Regions from separate parts of the Homo sapiens genome. Here region 1 is linked to region 2. The links are contacts of gene promoters, found by promoter capture Hi-C in blood cells and fetal thymus (Javierre and others, 2016). All regions are on one chromosome and are shown on one strand. The core of a region is centred on a gene start or on the middle of the fragment in contact, and the rest is flanking DNA. Distances in the headings are between cores, read along the strand shown.

Region 1 (5,725 bases), core at 2,423-4,922, 140 kb before region 2:
GGCCAGCCTGGCCAACGTGGTGAAACCCCGTCTCTACTAAAAAGCACAAAAATTATCTGGGCGTGGTGGTGTATGCCTGCAATCCCAGGTACTCGGGAGGCGAGGCAGGAGAATCACTTGAACCCAGGAGGTGGAGGTTGTAGTGAGCCAAGATCATGCCACTGCACTCCAGCCTGGGAAACAAGAGTGAAACTCTGTCTCAAACAAACAAACAAGAAAACATGCTATGGCTATTTCTCTTTTTTTTTTTTTTTTTGAGACGGAGTCTCGCTCTGTTGCCCAGGCTGGAGTGCAGTGGCGCGATCTCAGCTCACTGCAAGCTCCGCCTCCTGGATTCATGCCATTCTCCTACCTCAGCCTCCCGAGTAGCTGGGACTACAGGCGCCTGCCACCATGCCCAGCTAATTTTTTGTATTTTTAGTAGAGACGGGGTTTCACCATGTTAGCCAGGATGGTCTCGATCTCCTGACCTCGTGATCCACCCGCCTCAGCCTCCCAAAGTGCTGGGATTACAGGCATGAGCCACCGTGCCTGGCTGCTATGGCTATTTCTCTAACTATAGTCACCTAAAGTCAGGACCCAGGAGAAATCAGTCAGTAGAACCAGTGTTAGTGAGGGTTTTTTTTTTTTTTTTTTTCTGTGATTACCTCTTAGTTTTTGTGTCTATTTGTGAATATAAAGAAAAATATTTAGATTCTTAACATGGAGATGAGATTAGGAAGGGAAACTAGGATGATTTTGGCTAATCTGAATGTGTTCAATGCAAACCTGCTAGGCAGGTTAAAAGTTTTTCTAGTTAAATGTCTTAGCATCAACACCCCCAAAATATTGTCTTGACTTCCTTCAAGAAGATTTATTCACAGGTGGTTTTCATGCGCTCGCTGGTAGAGCAGCCACACAGCCTTAGAAACATGCCCTTGGCACTCTGATTTTTTTTTTTTTTTTGGAGATGGAGTTTCGCTCTTGTTGCCCAGGCTGGAGTGCAATGGTGCGATCTCGGCTCACCGAAACCTCCTCCTCCCGGGTTCAAGCGATTCTTCTGCCTCAGCCTCCTGAGTAGCTGGGATTACAGGCATGCGCCACCATGCCCAGCTAATTTTGTATTTTTTAGTAGGGACGGGGTTTCTCCATGTTGGTCAGGCCAGTCTCGAACTTCCAACCTCAGGTGATCTGTCTGCCACGGCCTCCAAAGTACTGGGATTACAGGCGTGAGCCACTGTGCCCGGCCGGCACTCTGATTTTTAAACATTTGGACACAGTTTTCCTTGGATTTGAAGAAATAATGCCCCAACTCAGGATGACCACGAGAGAATGGTGGCCTGAGAAGAAAAACAGCTCAGTGCTACAAATGAAAGCCACTGCACAGCCGGGCACCGTGGCTCACACCTGTGATCCCAGCACTTTGGGAGGCCAAGGCAGGCAGATCATTTGAGGTCTGGAGTTCGAGACTAGCCTGACCAACATGATGACACCCCATCTCTACTAAAAATACAAAAAAAATTAGCCAGATGTGGTGGCGTGCACCTGTAGTCCCAGCTACTTGGGAGGCTGAGGCAGGAGAATCGCTTGAACCCGGGAGGCAGAAGTTGCAATGAGCTGAGATCACGCTACCGCATTCCAGCCTGGGCAACAGAATGAGACTCCGTCTCAAAAAAAAAGAAAGCCACTGCATATTTACACATGGTCTGTCCTCTCCAATTAAATAATTCTGTTCTTATTTGCTCTGCTTTGAGACAAAAGATGAAAAGCTGTGCACGTTCTTAATAACAGTAGCTTCATCACACATGTTGAAAGATTGAAGGAAATGGATTTCAGCTGTGGACTTTTTTTGTTTGTTTTAAACTTGTAACAAAAGCACTAATGTTATCTTTCATTCCTGATTTCTTAATTCTCTTTCTATATAAAGCTGACATGTCTGCATTTTTATTTCAGGAATCTTTCAAAGAAGTACCAACCTAAAAAGAACTCGAAGGAGGAAGAAGAATACAAGTATGTTTACCATTGAAAATTGTCTTGTAATAGACACATGCCATTGATGACTACACACGGAAAGGAGAAATACATGTCTATAAAAATAAGTTGCATTTCCCATTCATTTTGTGTCAGTTTTTAAATTGGAGGAGAGAACAATAAAAACATAATTAACTTTTCTTATATGGAGTCACTGGACCTATGCCAGATTGTTTCAATTAAAGTAATTAGGAAAACTTTAGAATGTAATTAAGCAAAAACAGGAAGTATGGAATCTGCATTCTAGAGTTGATTTGGTTTGGCACTGTCAGGAGTCCCTGTCATGCTAGTCATTCATCCAAGAAATATGTCAATTTCAGTCAGCAATTAAGGCATCTTAACACAGACCACTCAAATATTACATCTCTAATGTATATCTAAATATCCTTTACATTAGTACATATAGCATGTATATGAATTTTGGATTATATCTTGACTAAGTATCAATGAAGCCAAATATTACATTATGCGGAGCGGTTCAGTTTTGCAAAATGAAAAGTGTTTCAATTGTAATTAATTCTGAGCCATTTTGTTGAGAACACTTGATGTGTAATGAATACTCAGGATCCTATGGGAGGTGGATGCCAATTAACCTGATTTTAATTAATATTTTCTTGGTGTAAAGCAGAATATGAATGAATGTGGCCTTGTGTGAAACAGAGTGGCGTGTGTTCTGTTCCATAGGTATACGTCATGTAAAGCTTTCATTTCCAACCTGAACGAAATGAATGATTACGCAGGGCAGCATGAAGTTATCTCCGAGAACATGGCATCACAGATCATTGTGGACTTGGCACGCTATGTTCAGGAACTGAAACAGGAGAGGAAATCAGTAAGCAAAACTTTATTCTTTTTCTTCCTAAAAGATGGACCAAACACAGTGGGAATATCCCTAGAAGATTAAAATTAAATAAAACCATATAAGACTATGGGTCTTAAACTCATACCTTTGAGAATCATATAAAAGTTATGGACCCCAGCTGGGCACGGTGGCTCATGCCTGTAATCCCAGGACTTTGGGAGGCCGAGGCAGGCGGATCACAAAGTGAGGAGTTTGAGACCAGCCTGACCAACATGGCGAAACCCCATCTCTACTAAAAATACAAAAATTAGCCAGGCGTGGTGGCATGTGGCTGTAATCCCAGCTACTCAGGAGGCTGAGGCAGGAGAAACGCTTGAACCTGGGAGGCGGAGGTTGCAGTGAGCCGAGATTTTGCACCTGTGCTCCAACCTGGGCGACAGAGCAAGACTCCGTCTCAAAAAGAAAAAAAAAAAGAAAAAAAGTTACAGACCCTGTTCCTAGAAAGTGTTTCTAGGTCTCTACGTAAAATGTCAAGGGTCCTTCAGACACTCTGAAACTCATCTGTGGACCCATATTCAAAGGAATATGCATCCCTTTGAGGAATTTAAATATATTTCAGGGTATCAGACATTTAAAAAACAAGTAAGTAATATAATATGGTGTATGCTCTGTGGAATAAATGGTATTAAAATTAGTACTTATCAGTCGGGCATGGTGGCTCACGCCTGTAATCCCAGCACTTTGGGAAGCCTAGGCAGATGGATCACCTGAGCTAAGGAGTTCGCGATCAGGCTGGTCAACATGGTGAAACCCCTTCTCTACTAAAAATATAAAAACTAGCTGGGCGTGGTGACGGGTACCCATAACCCCAGCTACTTGGGGGTCTGAAGCACGAGAATTGCTTGAACCCAGGAGGTGGAGGTTGCAGTGAGCCGAGATCTCGCCATTGCACTCCAGCCTGGGTGACAAGAGCAAAACTCCACCTCAAAAAGAAAAAAAAAAAAAAAAAATTAGTGCTTGTAAGTAGGTCAAAAAAATGGAAAGATGTCCCCAGTTACATCCATTCTTTTCCTCAGCTCATTCATTGCTATCTAATGAAGCAAACCTTATTGTTCCTCTTGCCACCATTATCGTCTTTTCATAAATAGGTTTTGTTGGTAACCAAAGAGAAAAATGGATGCTCAAAGTCTATTCTTAGTCATGATTTTGCCTTAAGGGATTTATCTTTAAGCCATGGTCTGTATCATTGTACTTCGATTGCATGTGAAGTGCGGAAAAATTTGTTACTAGTAATAAAGTAATCACGTTGGCCAGTGATAACATTTTTTTTTTTTTTGAGACGGAGTTTCACCCTTTGGTCCAGGCCCGAGTGAAGTGGTGCGATCTCGACTCCCTGAAACCTCCGCCCCCCGGGTTCAAGCGATTCTCCTCCCTCAGTAGCTGAGATTACAGGTGCCCGCCACCATGCCCAGCTAATTTTTTGTATTTTTCGTAGAGATGGGGTTTCACCATATTGGTCGGGCTGGTCTCAAACTCCTCAGACCACCGTGATCTACCCGCCTTGGCCTCCCAAAGTGCTGGGATTACAGGCGTGAGCCACCGAGCCCAGCCACAACAGTTCTTTTAATGCCCTGGGGATACATGAGCCAACAAGATTACTATGGCTTCTGCTGAAATGGAGGAGACATTAAGTAATAATGACAAAAGTGATTATTTAATTGCAATTATGGTAGTTGCCACAAAGTAAGAGTAGAACGTGCTATGAGAGCATATAATAGGATTTCTGATATGCTCATGCTCTGGGGTCAGGAAGAAGCTTCCCAAGGGACTTCGCAGTTAAGGCCTTAACAAGACTTGAGGGATGATTAGGACCTGCCTGGGACAAGCATTCAATAGAGAGCAGCCAGGGCGCTTGGGCAGGAAGGTGTTTGAAAATGTCTCAATTTAGTTCTTTCTAAACTATAAATGTGTAGCATATGGCCTTGGATAGGTTTAAAAGTTAGGAAGAGATAAATGCCTTAAGATCAACCCATTGGTTTAAAACAACAATATGCCAATAAACTGAGATGAATCTTCATCTGTTGACATTAGCACAGTGGTTCTCAACTAGGGACAGTTTTACTCCCTACTCCAGCCACATTTATCAGTGTCTGGAGACACTTTTGGTTGTCTCAGGGATTGTGGCTAAGGGGTTGCTACTGGTATCTAGAGAGAAGAGGCCAGGGAGGCAGCTAAGCCTCCTACAATATACAGGACAGCTCCCCAACGAAGAATGACCTGGCCCAAAATGTCTATAGTGCTGAGAGTGAGAAACCCTGCACTGGAGCCCTAAATTAGATGACAGTTTCTGCTGGACCATTCATTAAAGATTTCTTTAGTGACAGAAAGGATGCAGTGAAACAGAATACTAAGGTTCAGAATGAAGTACAAATATCTAATATAATAAAATAAATACCAGAAATCTTAACATGATCCTGGACTGCTTCCCTGGACCCTGAACTTCCCTTGACCTTGCAAAGGTTTATATTTTTTTCCTGGTTGTTTCTTTTGTCAATGCTTTGTCTCTCTCCTTTTTTTTTTTTTTTTTTTTTTAAGATGGAGTCTCACTGTGTTGCCCAGACTGGAGTGCAGTGGCACGATCTCGCCTAACCACAACCTCCACCTCCCAGGTTCAAGCGATTCTCCTGCCTCAGCCTCCCAAGTAGCTGGGATTACAGGCACATGCCACTATATCCGGCTAATTTTTTATATTTTTGGTAGAGATAGGGTTTCACCATGTTGGCCAGGCTGGTCTCGCACTCCTGACCTCAAATGATCCACCCGTCTTGGCCTCCCAAACTGCTGGGATTACAAGCGTGAGCCACCGTGCCCCCTCGTATTCCTTTGCTGTGTTATGGTCAAGTTGTTTTATAT
Region 2 (6,326 bases), core at 2,262-4,761:
TGAGTAAGCATGAGCAGAAACTCAGTCTCGAAGCTCAGACTAGAAACCTTAGAAAAAACTCACATTAGAGATGCGGAAACTAAGAACTAGGAAAATCATGATTTCTGGGGCCTGAAATCAGATCCTCTCTTTTCAGGCAGCATGATCTGCAGCTGCCTTCCCCCATGCAATCTCAGAGTTTAAAGGGGTTTAGAAACCATGCATCTTCCCCTTAAGGCACAACTCTGCTCTGTAAAAGCCATACTGGGTTGTTCTCCAAACCCAGTTTGAGCAGTCGTTGATGATAAAATCACCCTTTTCCCAGAGGGCAGCTCTAGTTGCTACAAACCTAAGTCTTTATAATCAATGGAAATTGGCTCTCCTGAAATTTCTATTTATTGAGCCATGACTGCTCACTGGAGCCAAAGAGCACTGCCACTTTCCTGCCTTTAAATATTTGTTGTTAGCCGGGCACAGTGGCTCACACCTGTAATCCCAGCACTTTGGGAGGCTGAGGCGGGCGGATCACTCAAGGTTAGGAATTTGAGACCAGCCTGGCCAACATGGTGAAACCCCGTCTCTACTAAAAATACATAAATTAGCCAGGTGTGGTGGTGGGCGCCTGTAATCCCAGCTACTCAGGAGTCTGAGGCAGGAGAATCACTTGAACCTGGGAGGCGGAGGTTGGAGTGAGCCAAGATCGCACCACTGCACTCCAGCCTAGGCAACTGAGTGAGACTCCGTCTCAAAAAAAAAAAAAAAAATTGTTGTCAACGTGCATGGCTTCTCCAAGTTTCCTCCTTCATGCTAATGAGAACCAGTTGGATACTGTTTGTCTTGCTAAGGTAAAAGGCTAAGAACAGCCTGGCTCTTTCATCACTGTTAAATACCCCACAATCAGGACTTGAGTTCAGGGTGTACACTCTAAATAAAAGCTTTTGTAAAATAAAGTTCAAGCTTACAGACCCCTAAAACCACCAGGCAGTGACTGGAACCCAAGGCCTATCATTCAATCCACTGCTTTATCTGTCATGTTTCCAACCAAATCCCAAACCAGAATGCGCTAATTTTAATTTGCAACTCAACCTTGCCACCCTCCCGGAGGTGATTCCCTTGTTTTGCTCTATTTGTTTCTTTTCCACAGCACTTACCATCTTCTAACACACTTTACATACTTTACTGTGAGAACATACACTCAACTAATCAGGGATCTTTTGTCTCTTTTGCTGACTTATTTCAAGCACTTAGAACAGTGCCTGCTCATATAGTAAATGCTAAGAATCTGTTGAATACATTGATCCAATAAATACATTTATTGGATGCCGACTATAGCTGGGCTGTGAACTGTATCACGTTGCTGGATCCCAAATCCAATCGGACATGAATGCTCCCTGAACCCTGAAACAAGCCAACATTTCATCTGGCTCCAGAAAGGAGCTAGGAAACCAACCAAAACCTAGGTTGAATCTGTACATTTTCTTAAAACAACTGAACTCCCAAACAAGACTAAGACCTTGGATTCATCTTTGAACTGCATAGAACCTGTATTTCTCGGAGGGTCCTTTTGAGAGACAGTCTCATCCTACGCTTAAAAGGGCCCAGTGAGACTTGGGCTGCAGTCTCTTGGCAAAGCCACTTACTGCCAGATTCATAGCTGCCACTTTTTCAGCATTCCTTTTGCTAAAGAGCACTCAATTAGATCTGCCACAGCACAGGTGGTGGTTATCACTGGGTCCTCTGGCCTCATGGAGCAAGGGTGGGAGCAGCTCATCTGTACCCTGGGACTTCAGCTGAGGAGGAGGGTCCAGAAATGCCCCTGGCCTTCTTGCCCTTTCCTTAGTAGTGTCCAGTACCCCCTGGTGGATGGGCTGCTTGATGGGCAGATTCAGAGCCACCTCTGAGAGCGTGAGAGCTGCAGACGTTGACCCCCTGGACTCCTGCAGCAATTCCCAAGGAGCCTCTCCATCATCTGACAGGGACTCCGTATCCAGTGAGTGCACGTGCATCTGGGTTTGGCTGAACCAGTCTGCAGAGGGCAAGACTTTGAGACTTTAATATATGGCTTTTGACCAAAGATAAAACGCTGGTGCAAGAAGTCCCGAGTCTACTATTTTTTCCAGCCCAAGGAAGAGAAGAACAATCTCAGTGGAGACTGTTCCAGAGAAAACGTAAGGCATTCTAGAAATGCTGCCCTGCTTCGGAATGGTCTTCCAGAAAGGGGAACCCCAGACAGCCCCCATCGGCCCCTCCCCCTAGCCAATGAGATGTAACAGCAGCTGCAGCAGCAGCAAACATCTACTGCACTCCTACCGTGCCAGGCCCTGTGCAAACCGTGCGGCAGAGACTGACCTGCAACCAATTCCTGTTCCACCTCCTAGCTGGGTAACTTGAGGCGTGCACTGCCCCTCGGAGACTCCGCATTCTCATTTGTAAAACGAAAAACAATCTACCTCAAAGGATTGCTGGGAGAATTCAATGAGATGATGCTTTGCCCAGGGCCTGCCACATAGTAACTGCTTAATAAGAGGTAGTTCTCAAAGTAAGGGATGACACTGAGAAAAGGAAAACTACTGTTACTTAAGGGGTTCTTAAAAGTCCTAGAAGCCATTATTTATGCATTTAGGTATTTCCTAAGCGTTTGCTGATACCAGTTTTTCAAATAAACTTTATCCTCACAGCATCTTCGGGGTGGAAGGGGCAGAGGGTAGAGCGACAGACCTGCCGAAGGAGGAAAACCAGACCCGTGAAGGTCCAGGGGGGTGGCCGGCAAGCACCGAGGAGGAGTCCCCCGGCTCAAACCCTCTTGCGTGGCTTCAAAACATCAGACGCGCCTCTCCTCGCGGAGAAGCTGGGGGCCATTATTTGTGAGGCAGTCGGCGCTGGGACTCTAAGTCAGCACCGCAGAGAAGTGGTCATCTTTTGTTCCGAAAGAAAAAAACGCACGTCAGGGCTCAGAGCCCGAGGAAAGAAAAGTCAGCGCCCGAGACGCGAGACGCCACGCGGATGCTTTCAACGCTAGGTCAGGCCCCGGCAGAAATGAGAGGGGGGCGGCCCCGGTTCTGGAGAAGCCACGAGCCCCCAGGGAGCTCAGAGTGGGGTGGTGCTGGGGCCCAGAGGCCCCCCTGGGCGCCGACCGGAGGAGGGGAGAGGGGCGGCGGCGGCCGGGGGGGTCCCGGGCTCCGCTCACCGGGCCGCTGCGTCTGGCGTACCTGGCGAAGCCAGGCCCTGTCAGCCCGGAGCCGGGCTGGGGTCGCCAATGCTCAGAGGCCCGGCCCACAGAAGCAGCCGGTGGCGGCCCGGAACTCACCTGCACTCGCAACTGCGCCGCCGCCGCCTGTCAGTCAAGCGCGCCCCCTCTGAGGCGACGCGCAGGGTTGTGGGGCCGTCTGGCGACGCCCCACCTCCTTCCCTCTGCCGTCCAATCGGAAGAGGCTGACGCCAGGAGAGGGGGCGTGGCCACGCGGACTGTGCGTGCCGGGGGCGGGGCCAGACGGGGCAGGCGCTCTGACCGCTCTGCCGCGCGCCGGAAGCAGCCTGGGCCGCTGCGCAGAGGCGCGGCGGCTGTACAACTCGGCCGTTGTCACCATGCCGGTCGTCCGGAAGATTTTCCGTCGCCGCCGGGGCGACTCGGAGTCAGAGGAAGATGAGCAGGACTCAGAGGAGGTTCGGTGCGTTTGGGGCGGGGCTCCCATAGGCTTGGTAAAGATAGACTTGTTTGGGGGACTCACCACCGGCTCGGCGCTTCGCTGACATTGTTAACTGTGAGCTCGGGTGGTGGTTCCTTCTGCGGACGCAGAAATTGAGGCTCAAGGGGTGAGGCCACCGCCCCAAGCTCGAACGGTTGAGAGAGATGCCTCCGGGATGCGCAGTGGCTCTGACTCCCGGTGGGTCTAGGCACAAGGTCGTCCTCTGGACCACTGTGCTGGTGGCTCAGTAGCTGGGCTGGGATGCCCTCGAAGGTGCCTTATTGGCTCTGTTAGCTTTGGATTCCGCGGGGAATCACTCAGCTTATGCATTGCTGCTTCTTCTTCTTTTTAAAGATTAAAACTGGAAGAGACCAGAGAGGTACAGAACTTGAGGAAGAGGCCCAACGGGGTGAGGTGGGTACCACGCGGGGAGGAGGAGGAGGCGGCGGGGACGACAGACACATCCGCGTCCGGGTCGCTGTCACAAATATCTCCTCAGACGTAGATTTTTCTCTTGACACACTGTACACCTTCCACTGCCCAACTTGGAGAACAGCGTTCTTTGCAAATGTTTAACCAGGACATGCCCTGAGCTGTGTCGTCTCGGGGTGTGCTCCAGAGATACAGAAACAGATCACTAACTCGCGTTTTTTATTAAAACCAATTAATTGTGAAATGCATATCGATCGTTAAGAGTTTGTATAATTTAGAAAAGTATAGTCAAGACGATAAAAAGCACCCATAATTCTCCCATCCGGAAATGATCAGTGTTAACATTTTTTTTCCTTGCAGAGCCACCCAAGAATGCACTGGTATTAATATTGAATACTCTTTCCAATCTGTTTTTTTTCGTCTCTCTCTCTCAGATTGTGAACAACTTTCTATGTACTTTTATTCCCTGTTCTTTTCAACTCATTATGACATTGTGGGCATTCACCCATATTGTGGAATATTTTTCAGAAAGCCTTAATGGCTGCATAATATTCCACCAGATGTGTGTATTGTAATTTGTTAACAAATCCCCTATTTTGGGACATGTAGGTGATTTTGTAAATTTTTACTATCAAATAAGGCTGCAGTGGATATTCTCTTAAATTTATCTTTAGCTGCACTTTCCATGATGAGAATATCTTAGAAATGAGATTTCCAGGCCAAGATAATGCCAAATGGCTTTACAGGAAAGTGGCAAAGTGTACCACTTCACCACCAGCGCACCCTTCTTCCAGCATCTGCGGTGCTCGTTGAGCCCTGTCTTATGCTTATAGGCTTTTCCAGCCGGCTTGCCTACCCACCCCTCAAATCCCACCCTTGCACTAATGTTGCAATCCGCATACCTGAGAGGGTTCCTCCTTATCTCTGAATTATGCCATTTCTCTCTCTCCCCCTCTCTTTTTTTTTTGGTTTTGCTCAGTGCTGTGGCCTTGCTGGTGGGAGAGAAGGTACAAGAGGAGACCACTCTAGTGGTAAGTTATGGGGTCTTCCCTGAGTAGTTATGGCAGCCCTCCCTGCAGTGCTCTTCAGTGAGTGAGCGTGCTTCACAAAAAAAAAAATTCCACTACCATGTATTTAGATGCTTCCTCTTAACTGTGTTTGCTTTCTGCAGGATGATCCCTTTCAGATGAAGACAGGTGGTATGGTGGATATGAAGAAACTGAAGGAAAGGGGCAAAGATAAGTAAGTTCAGGACAAGCTTAGATGCAAATTCACCTTTAGCGGCTGCCTGGGTCTAGGTTCCCTCAGAGAGCTGGGGCCTGTAGCAGCAGCATTAGTAGGACATCTTGAAGCAGGTTTTGTGCTTTGCAAAGGGTGTGTTATTTAAAAACAAAGAAAGCAAAAAGTCTTTAAAAGTTAACTTAGAGCCAAGTTGGTAGACTCCTTTTGTAAGAGTGTATTGTAGGCGTGATGACTCATGCCTATAATCCCAACACTTTGGGAGGCTGAGGTTAGCTTGAGTCCAGGAGTTTAAGACCAGCCTGGGCAACATAGTGAGACCCCTGTCTCTACAAAAAAAAAAAAAAGTGTGTATGTATACACACACACACACACACACACATATGTACACACATATACACATATGTATATACACACATGTATATACACATATACACACACACACACACACATATATATATATACACACACGCATATATATATGTGTGTGTATATATCTGGGTGTGGTGGCATGTGCCTGTAGTCCCAGCTATTCAGGAAATTAAAGTGGGAGAATCACTTGAGTCAGGGAGGTTGAGGCTAGAGTGAGCCGCGATCACACCACTGCACTCCAGCCTGGGTGACAGAGAAAGACCCTGTCTCAAAAAAATAAAATAAGTGAACCTATGGGGAAGTTTCATATAAAAACAATTAACAAAAATAATAAATTCAGGCCAGCTGCGGTGGCTCATGCCTGTAATGCCAGCACTTCAGGAGGCTGAGGCAGGCGGATTACCTGAGGTCAGGAGTTCGAGACCAGCCTGACCAACATGGTGAAACACTGTCGCTATTAAAAATACAAAAGTTAGCCGGGCATTGTGGTGGGCACCCGTAATCCCAGCTACTCAGGAGGGTGAGGCAGGAGAATTGCTTGAACTCGGGAGGCAGAGGTTGCAGTGAGCTGAGATTGCGCCACTGCACTTCAGCCTGGGTGACAGAGTGAGACTCCGT

Evidence for each region. Contacts are between HindIII fragments. The CHiCAGO score rates a contact against its expected background, and 5 or more counts as called.
Region 1: a fragment that was not itself captured here is called in contact with the fragment with the promoter of C9orf78 in region 2 in 5 of 17 cell types (total CD8 T cells, naive CD8 T cells, total CD4 T cells and 2 more); the score reaches 7.7 in total CD8 T cells.

What each region holds. Positions count from the first base shown.
Region 1 is chr9:129,975,582-129,981,306 of GRCh38, reverse strand. FNBP1 (formin binding protein 1) reads left to right here. Exons shown (of 17, transcript NM_015033.3): 3 at 1,933-1,989; 4 at 2,695-2,842. Among named protein-coding and RNA genes, the nearest start is that of FNBP1, 65 kb to the left of the region's middle. The HindIII fragment of the contact is 1,917 bases long and covers 2,714-4,630 here.
Region 2 is chr9:129,832,460-129,838,785 of GRCh38, reverse strand. It overlaps C9orf78 (chromosome 9 open reading frame 78), which reads left to right and starts at 3,511. Exons shown (of 9, transcript NM_016520.3): 1 at 3,511-3,647; 2 at 4,020-4,079; 3 at 5,077-5,128; 4 at 5,269-5,339. The coding sequence starts at 3,565. It overlaps USP20 (ubiquitin specific peptidase 20), which reads right to left and starts at 3,328. Exons shown (of 26, transcript NM_001110303.4): 1 at 3,287-3,328. RefSeq lists an enhancer at 2,578-3,078 and silencers at 3,050-3,199, 3,230-3,579. The HindIII fragment of the contact is 4,419 bases long and covers 939-5,357 here.